Linked DNA regions of Homo sapiens: region 1 is linked to region 2. Evidence: promoter capture Hi-C in 16 types of primary human blood cells and fetal thymus (Javierre and others, 2016). All regions are on one chromosome and are shown on one strand. Each heading gives the region's core, a stretch centred on a gene start or on the middle of the fragment in contact. The rest is flanking DNA. Distances are from core to core; before and after follow the strand shown.

Region 1 (3,320 bases), core at 324-2,823, 240 kb after region 2:
GTGTCTTTAGATCCAAAGGCAGAAACCAGGTTATACATCACAGTCAATGACTTTGAATTTCATGTCTATAATCGCTCGGATCTTTATGGACGCCTTCAAGAGTTGTTTGGTTTGGAGCCAACAATAATTCCACCTAAGAAAGATGATGATAAAACACGGGAAATTGGAAGAACAAGAACCCAATCGAAAATTGAAAGGTTCAGTATCATACTTGAATTTTATTAAACTCTAGCATTTAAACATTTGCCTTTATTAGAATATCATTGAGGCTATGCACCTAAACAGAGCCTAATATTTCTTTGCAAATTAACTGAAACTTTTAGTAACATAAATAATTATATAATTATTTTAGAAATTGAGATAATATAGAATATGTAATCTAAAAAAGTCCCGTTCTATTCCCTTGCACACAAATCCTACTTTTCTCCGTATTAATAACTAATGTTATCAATTTAGTTTTTATCCTTTTGAATGTATGTACATAAATGTATACATACATATTTAAGGTGCTTATAAAATACATGATTTTGTTCTGTGTGTTTCTAAACATATGTGTTTAGAATATGTGCCTCATATAGTGTGTATTGTTCTGTAATTTGCTTTTTATGTAGCAGTTTGTCTGTAAGATTGTTCCATATCTGTATATGTAGGTCTGCTTTTAAAAATACATATCTGTGTATGTAGGTCTACCTACAAAATTATTCTGGAACAGGATCAGCAAACTTAGACCTATACTATAGCACAAGTCTAGCCCACTGCCTGTTTTGTATATAGAGTTTTATTGGGACATAGCCACACCTATTTATTTATATATTATCTATCTGTTTAGTGAATTGCTGTGAAATTTTGATTTCTTAACATTTGTGTACTTTGTATATGGCCAGTTTTCTTACTCTTGGCTTATCATTTTCATTTCATTAAGGGAAAATTAATTTGGCACAAGGCATTTGGGTGAGGGAAGGAAGAGGAGCAACTGGATTGTTTTCAGAAGTGCTTAAAACAGTAGACAAACATCAAAGTGACTTGTACCTTAATCATTTATGTTTAATAATAACTTTGGCTGTCTTATAAAATGTCGTATAGTAACATAATGGGCAAAATGGTAGATGTAATGACAGCATATCATCCCTTATAGTTTTGTCATTAAAGCTTGTTATTCTAAAAACATAGTTTTGTTATAATAGCTTATCCATCTAAAAGTTGATATGATAAGAGTGCTCCAGTAGACAGCTGTAGGAATATTAGTATTCCTTCAGATGATCATTGTTCTGTTTACTGAAGTAGTCACTAGATGTATTTGGAAAGGTAAACTGAAACTGTGAGGTATGGTATTGTGAGGAAGTGAACTATGTCCTCAGGTATTTAAGGTTTTCTTATTCATGTCAGTTTTATTTTTTCTTGTTAGAGTTAAAGTAAAAACAGAATCCCAAGACCCCACATCTTCATGGAGATCACTTATTCCAGTCATAAAGGTCAATGTGAGCACAGTAAGTAAATTCTGCTACAATTACTGTTTCATGGGGTAGTAATGTAGAACTTTTAATTTTTGCAAATATGATTTTAATGTAAGAAAATTAAATAGTTTTGTGGAGTTTTTTTTAGTTCCCATTTCTGTATAGTGTGAGTGAAATAATTATTTTAAAATACTGTTTTCTGATAAATTTGTGTTTAAATTTCTTTAAGTACTTAAATTTTCTTTTAACTACTGGTTTAAATTGACCAGTGGAATAGTTTAAATAGCACATAGTCCTAAAGTGGAATCATTAAGCTGTTGTTTGAAAATGTTTGTTATTAGTTTAGCTAAAGAAAGAAATATGGCCAGAATAGCATGATATAATATCTCTTATCTGTTTATTTTTTTTTTTTTAGGGACGTTTGGCCTTTGGAAATCACTACCAGCCGCAAACTCTGTGCATCAACTTTGATGATGCTTTCTTAACTTATACTACAAAACCACCTTCAAGTCATCTTGACCAATTCATGCATATTGTGAAAGGAAAGCTTGAAAATGTTCGAGTCATGCTTGTTCCTAGTCCAAGATATGTTGGTCTTCAAAATGATGAGTAAGAAAATCTTATAAAAATAATAAAAAACTTCTTATAGGTAATACAGATACAGCTAGAAACTTTAACATCCTTTTACTTTTTTTGCTACAAGTTGTACAAAAATTAGGTATATTTCTCTATTAAAGCAGTTAACAATGTAGTCCTTCTTTATAGGATAAATGGATATGCTATCCAGTGATAAACTCTAATTTTAAATATTTTTCTGCATGATTATAACTATAATTTTTTTATCCTTTTCTCCTTCTAATTGTATTTTGGAAACTTACTTTGTGCAATTAGTTCCTGTTTGTATGTTAGGAGATACACATTACAGGTAGGTTTTTGTTTCTAGAAGATGTGACTAAAGAGTAAATTGAACAGATTCATTGCAGTGGAATACCACTTTGAGTTATTGAAAGTCGAAAATTGAATCGAAATTACTCTTGGAAAATTTGGTGAAGTTAAGATGGTATAGTTTTGAGACCCACTTGACATTTCTTTAAGTTCCAAACTGTCAGTTTTCCATCTAGCTTTCCATTTTTTTTTTTTTCCTTCAGTGAAGTAGCTGCTTGTATTTATAAGACTCATTATAGGAATGATGTACACTAGACTCAGTGTGATGGGATGCTGAGTGGGAGATGGGCTCTTGTGATTTTTATGTTTTTTCTCAATTTTTGTGTGTGTAAAGGATACTCTGGTTGAATTTAAGTGTTCATATGGAGAGTTTTCAGTACAGTGTCTCAGCTTTTATCTTTGTGTGTAGGTACCTTATGAGGTTTTATGTGAAACATGATTATTCCTTTTTAGTTGTAACTCTTGGCTGGCCTGGTATTCGATTTTCCAGGATTTGGCTAGAATGATAGAAAGAGGGTTTTTCCTTTTTGAGTATCGCGGTGACTGTGGGTCTTCCTGGCCTCACTCTTCAAGATCATGGACTTGGTTAAGAATCTTCTGGAATGTGGACTGTGCACACAAATGTGTATGAGTGAAGGTATAATACTGAATAAATCAGGATTTTTTTGAAAAATTATAGAGAGTAAGATGAAAAAGTGTCTTGCTATTAATAATTTGTATAAAAAGATTTAAAATTGTATTTTTCACTTAAGTGTGGAGATTACATGATGATATTAAACATTAAGCTTTGTGATTTAATACATATTTAGAAAAAAATTGCAAGTTTTTGCATTTAATATCATCTAATGATTGAGAAGTTAATTTTGATATGCAAGAAGATATTGTGATGTATGTATGACAAAGAGAAAAGTTGTTTAATCA
Region 2 (3,152 bases), core at 86-2,585:
AGCCGCTGACCCTGCACCGCCTGGGAACCGCAGTCAAAGTTATCACTAAAGCGGTTCCCCGGCTGCCCGATGCCCACTCTCTCCCTCAGGGGACCCTATAGGGCTTCGGTTCCAGTTTTACCCCAAATGTGACTGAACCACAGAGAGACGAGGCGCCTGGGCAAACCTTCAACCCACACCCTGTATCGCACTGTCCCCTCCCTACTCCCCACTTCTCTGCCCCCGCCCCCGACGTCCCAGAGCGTCGGAGGGGACCCAAGTCCACGCTGGGACGCCCGGGAGGAGTTCAGGGTTCAAGTGCGCGCCTGGGTCTGTGCACATCTTCCCCTTCCTCGGCCTCCCTGGGTAAGCTCGGGACCCCGGGGTCCGTCTTCCAAGGGGTGCCCAGCCCTGGCAGCAGTCGTGCGAGCTCCTCGGCTCTAATACAGGGAGTGGCTGCTCGCCAGGATGCTTGTCTGAAGTCAGTGTGCCCGCCTGCGGGCTGTTCCGTGTGCTTGAGCCTGGACAGAGCCCCTGCCACGCACTCGGCAGCCCCTGTGTCCCTCCACCGCGCGGGACCGAGGGGGCGAGCCTCCGGCCGAGGTCTGTCCCCTCCAAATCACTCCAAATCGAACTGCCTGGCCGTACCATGTGGGTCTCGGAGGTCCCGGGCTCGACGTGGAGCCGCCCGGCGCGCGCCTTCCCGCCCCCCGCCCGGCACCGCCCTCCGAGGCGCGGGCCGCGGCCGGGCCCGGTACTCACAGGTCCGGCCCGTGGGAGAAGGGCGGCGGGCAGTAGCCGTGCGGCTCCCGCTGCGAGGGCGCCGAGCGCGGCTCCAGCCCCCCGTTGACGCCCCTCCAGCCCCGGCGGCGGCGCTGCGGCTCCGCGCCCTCGTCCTCGCCCTCGTCTTCCTCCTCCTCCGGCGCCGGGAAGGTCACCCTTGCTTGTTCTTTGCACTTCCTGACCTTGGTGGACATCGCGCCGGCTGCGGTCCGAGTGTGGGGGTGCCGGCTGCCGGCCTCCTCCGCCTTCGCGGCAGTGCAGTCTTCCCGCGGCGCCCCTTCACCACCTCCCGCGGCTTCCGGGGCCCCGGGCGGCCCAGGGCGGGAAGGCAGGAGCGGAGAGCGTCGCGGCCCGCGATCCAGCAGTTAGAGGCTAGCGCCGAAGCCGAGCTGCCGCCGCCCACCATCAAACCGTGGGAGCAGCTGCCGCGGCCGTGGCTGCGACGAGGAAGCCCGGGGCCGAGCGGGGCTCTGGTGCTGGGAGAGGCTCTCCAGCCCCGCGGCGGCGGCGATGCCTCCTCGGCGCCCGTCTCCTGTCTCCGACAGCATCACTTGCTAGGACAGCATCGTTACTCAGGGAGAAGGAGAGGGAGGGCGGGAGGGGGAAGAGGAGGGGGAGAATCAATTCCTTATCAGACAGAGCTGGAGAGGAAATCAGACAGACCGCAGGTGGGGAGTAAAGAAAGAGAAACTTCCCCTCCCCACTCTCTTTCTCTTCCAGAGGATCTAGGGCCCTTTTTGCATCTACAGAAACAAGTTTCCTAAGGAAGGGAAAAGGAAATCCACTGGCTTGTTAATTTTCCTGCAGCCAACTCTCCAAATTTGTCTCAAAAAGCATCACTTGTTCGTTGGGTTACTCCCGGTAAGACTTGGTTGAACCTACGGAGGTTTAAGTACCTTCCCCTGAGTGCCTTCGTACTCCATCCAGCCTGGTAATGTTTTAAACGTGCATGATGCTTCAGTTCTTTTAATGACTCTCAAAGGCGTCTAATAAGATTTATATACTTTCCAAGGAAGATTTTTCAGCGAAATGCAGTCTTCTTTTTAAAACACACTCACAAAAATTGCATTTTAGAATTCAAGACCAGTCATTCTTTTGGGAGGAAAGAGGTACAGAATCTTAGCAGGAATCTTAGGGATCAAGGAGTCTCTTGGTCCTTTTAAATAAGAAACCCTTGGCCTAGAGAGACTGAAAAAGGTACTCATGATAGGTGGGTAGTGAGAAAACTTAGATTAGATCCAGAAGAGTGTGTTCTTCCAGACTTTCCCTTGCTTCAAATAGACGGCTTTCTAGCAAGTCCAACTAGGAAAAATCACAAAAATACTGGACACGCTCTGATGAGATAAAATTTATTTAACTGTATCCAATTATACTGTACTTTTTAGAGGAACAATTCTTCCCAAATTTAAGCAAAACACAAGAAAATGTAGCTCCTTTGAATTTAATTCTTAAAAAGTAAATAAAATATTGTGTATTAAATTGGCAAGTCTATATGTTGAAAGAAGCAATAGCATTTATACATCTAATATAGGAAAAACAAAAACAAGTAAATATTGTATAGTGCTTTATGTTTGGAAGTGCTTTTCAGTTGTTAGTACATATGCAAGTGTTAACGGTTTCACAATGTAGGTTAGCAGACCTATTCAGTTTCACCTCTGGAATATCTCTAAAGCAGGACTGCCCTTCTCCACCCGGTACCACCGCCTCAATTCAGGCTCCCCTGCTTCTCCCTGCTATCCAGCCTTTCTGCAGCCCACCTCTCCCCATACTGTTTCATTCTTTGTACTACTGGAAAGACCATGCTTAAAGCAAAGTCTGATCACGACTTTTCTCTATAAAAATCTCTGGTGGCTTCCCACTACTTTCAGGTTAAAATCCAAGTTTTCAATCTCTCCTCCCATCCTTTTTCATACACATTCTAACTGCAGTTACCCTGAACGCTCAGTCATCAACTGACATGCTAGATACTTTCCCATTTCTCTGCCTTTGTCTATGGCATTCCTGTCACTGAAATGTCTCTCTTCATTCATCTGCTACACTGACTTTTCCTTAAAGAACTAGGTTAGCTGTGGCCTCCAGTCTGACAGCCCTCTTGGGTCCCAGTGGATTTTCCACAGGCTCTGGTCCTTACCCACACTGTGTATACCACAGTCTTACCAGTGATCACATCATACTGAAATTCACTCTGTATGTGCCTGTTTCCTCTAAACTATGAATCCCTTGAGGGTGATGTGGGATCTTATTTATTTTGAGCTATTAGGGGCTCATCTTTTTGTCCTTGCTATTTAGATCAGTACCTGATGTGCAGGACAAGCTAAATAAATGTTTGTTGGATGAATTTATGAAGTTTATAGTTTCTTTATAATTACTTTAGTATGTTTATAAACTGC

What was found. Contacts are between HindIII fragments. The CHiCAGO score rates a contact against its expected background, and 5 or more counts as called.
Region 1: a fragment that was not itself captured here is called in contact with the fragment with the promoter of TRPC3 in region 2 in 3 of 17 cell types (naive CD8 T cells, naive CD4 T cells and non-activated CD4 T cells); the score reaches 5.6 in naive CD8 T cells.

Annotation. Positions count from the first base shown.
Region 1 is chr4:122,186,026-122,189,345 of GRCh38, forward strand. It overlaps BLTP1 (bridge-like lipid transfer protein family member 1), which reads left to right. Exons shown (of 88, transcript NM_001384125.1): 7 at 11-197; 8 at 1,406-1,487; 9 at 1,870-2,063. Among named protein-coding and RNA genes, the nearest start is that of BLTP1, 35 kb to the left of the region's middle. The HindIII fragment of the contact is 852 bases long and covers 1,148-1,999 here.
Region 2 is chr4:121,950,725-121,953,876 of GRCh38, forward strand. It overlaps TRPC3 (transient receptor potential cation channel subfamily C member 3), which reads right to left and starts at 1,336. Exons shown (of 12, transcript NM_001130698.2): 1 at 742-1,336. The coding sequence starts at 956. LOC102724158 (a long non-coding RNA gene) reads left to right here and starts at 258. Exons shown (of 3, transcript XR_427598.4): 1 at 258-345. RefSeq lists a silencer at 927-1,196. The HindIII fragment of the contact is 12,740 bases long and covers 1-3,152 here.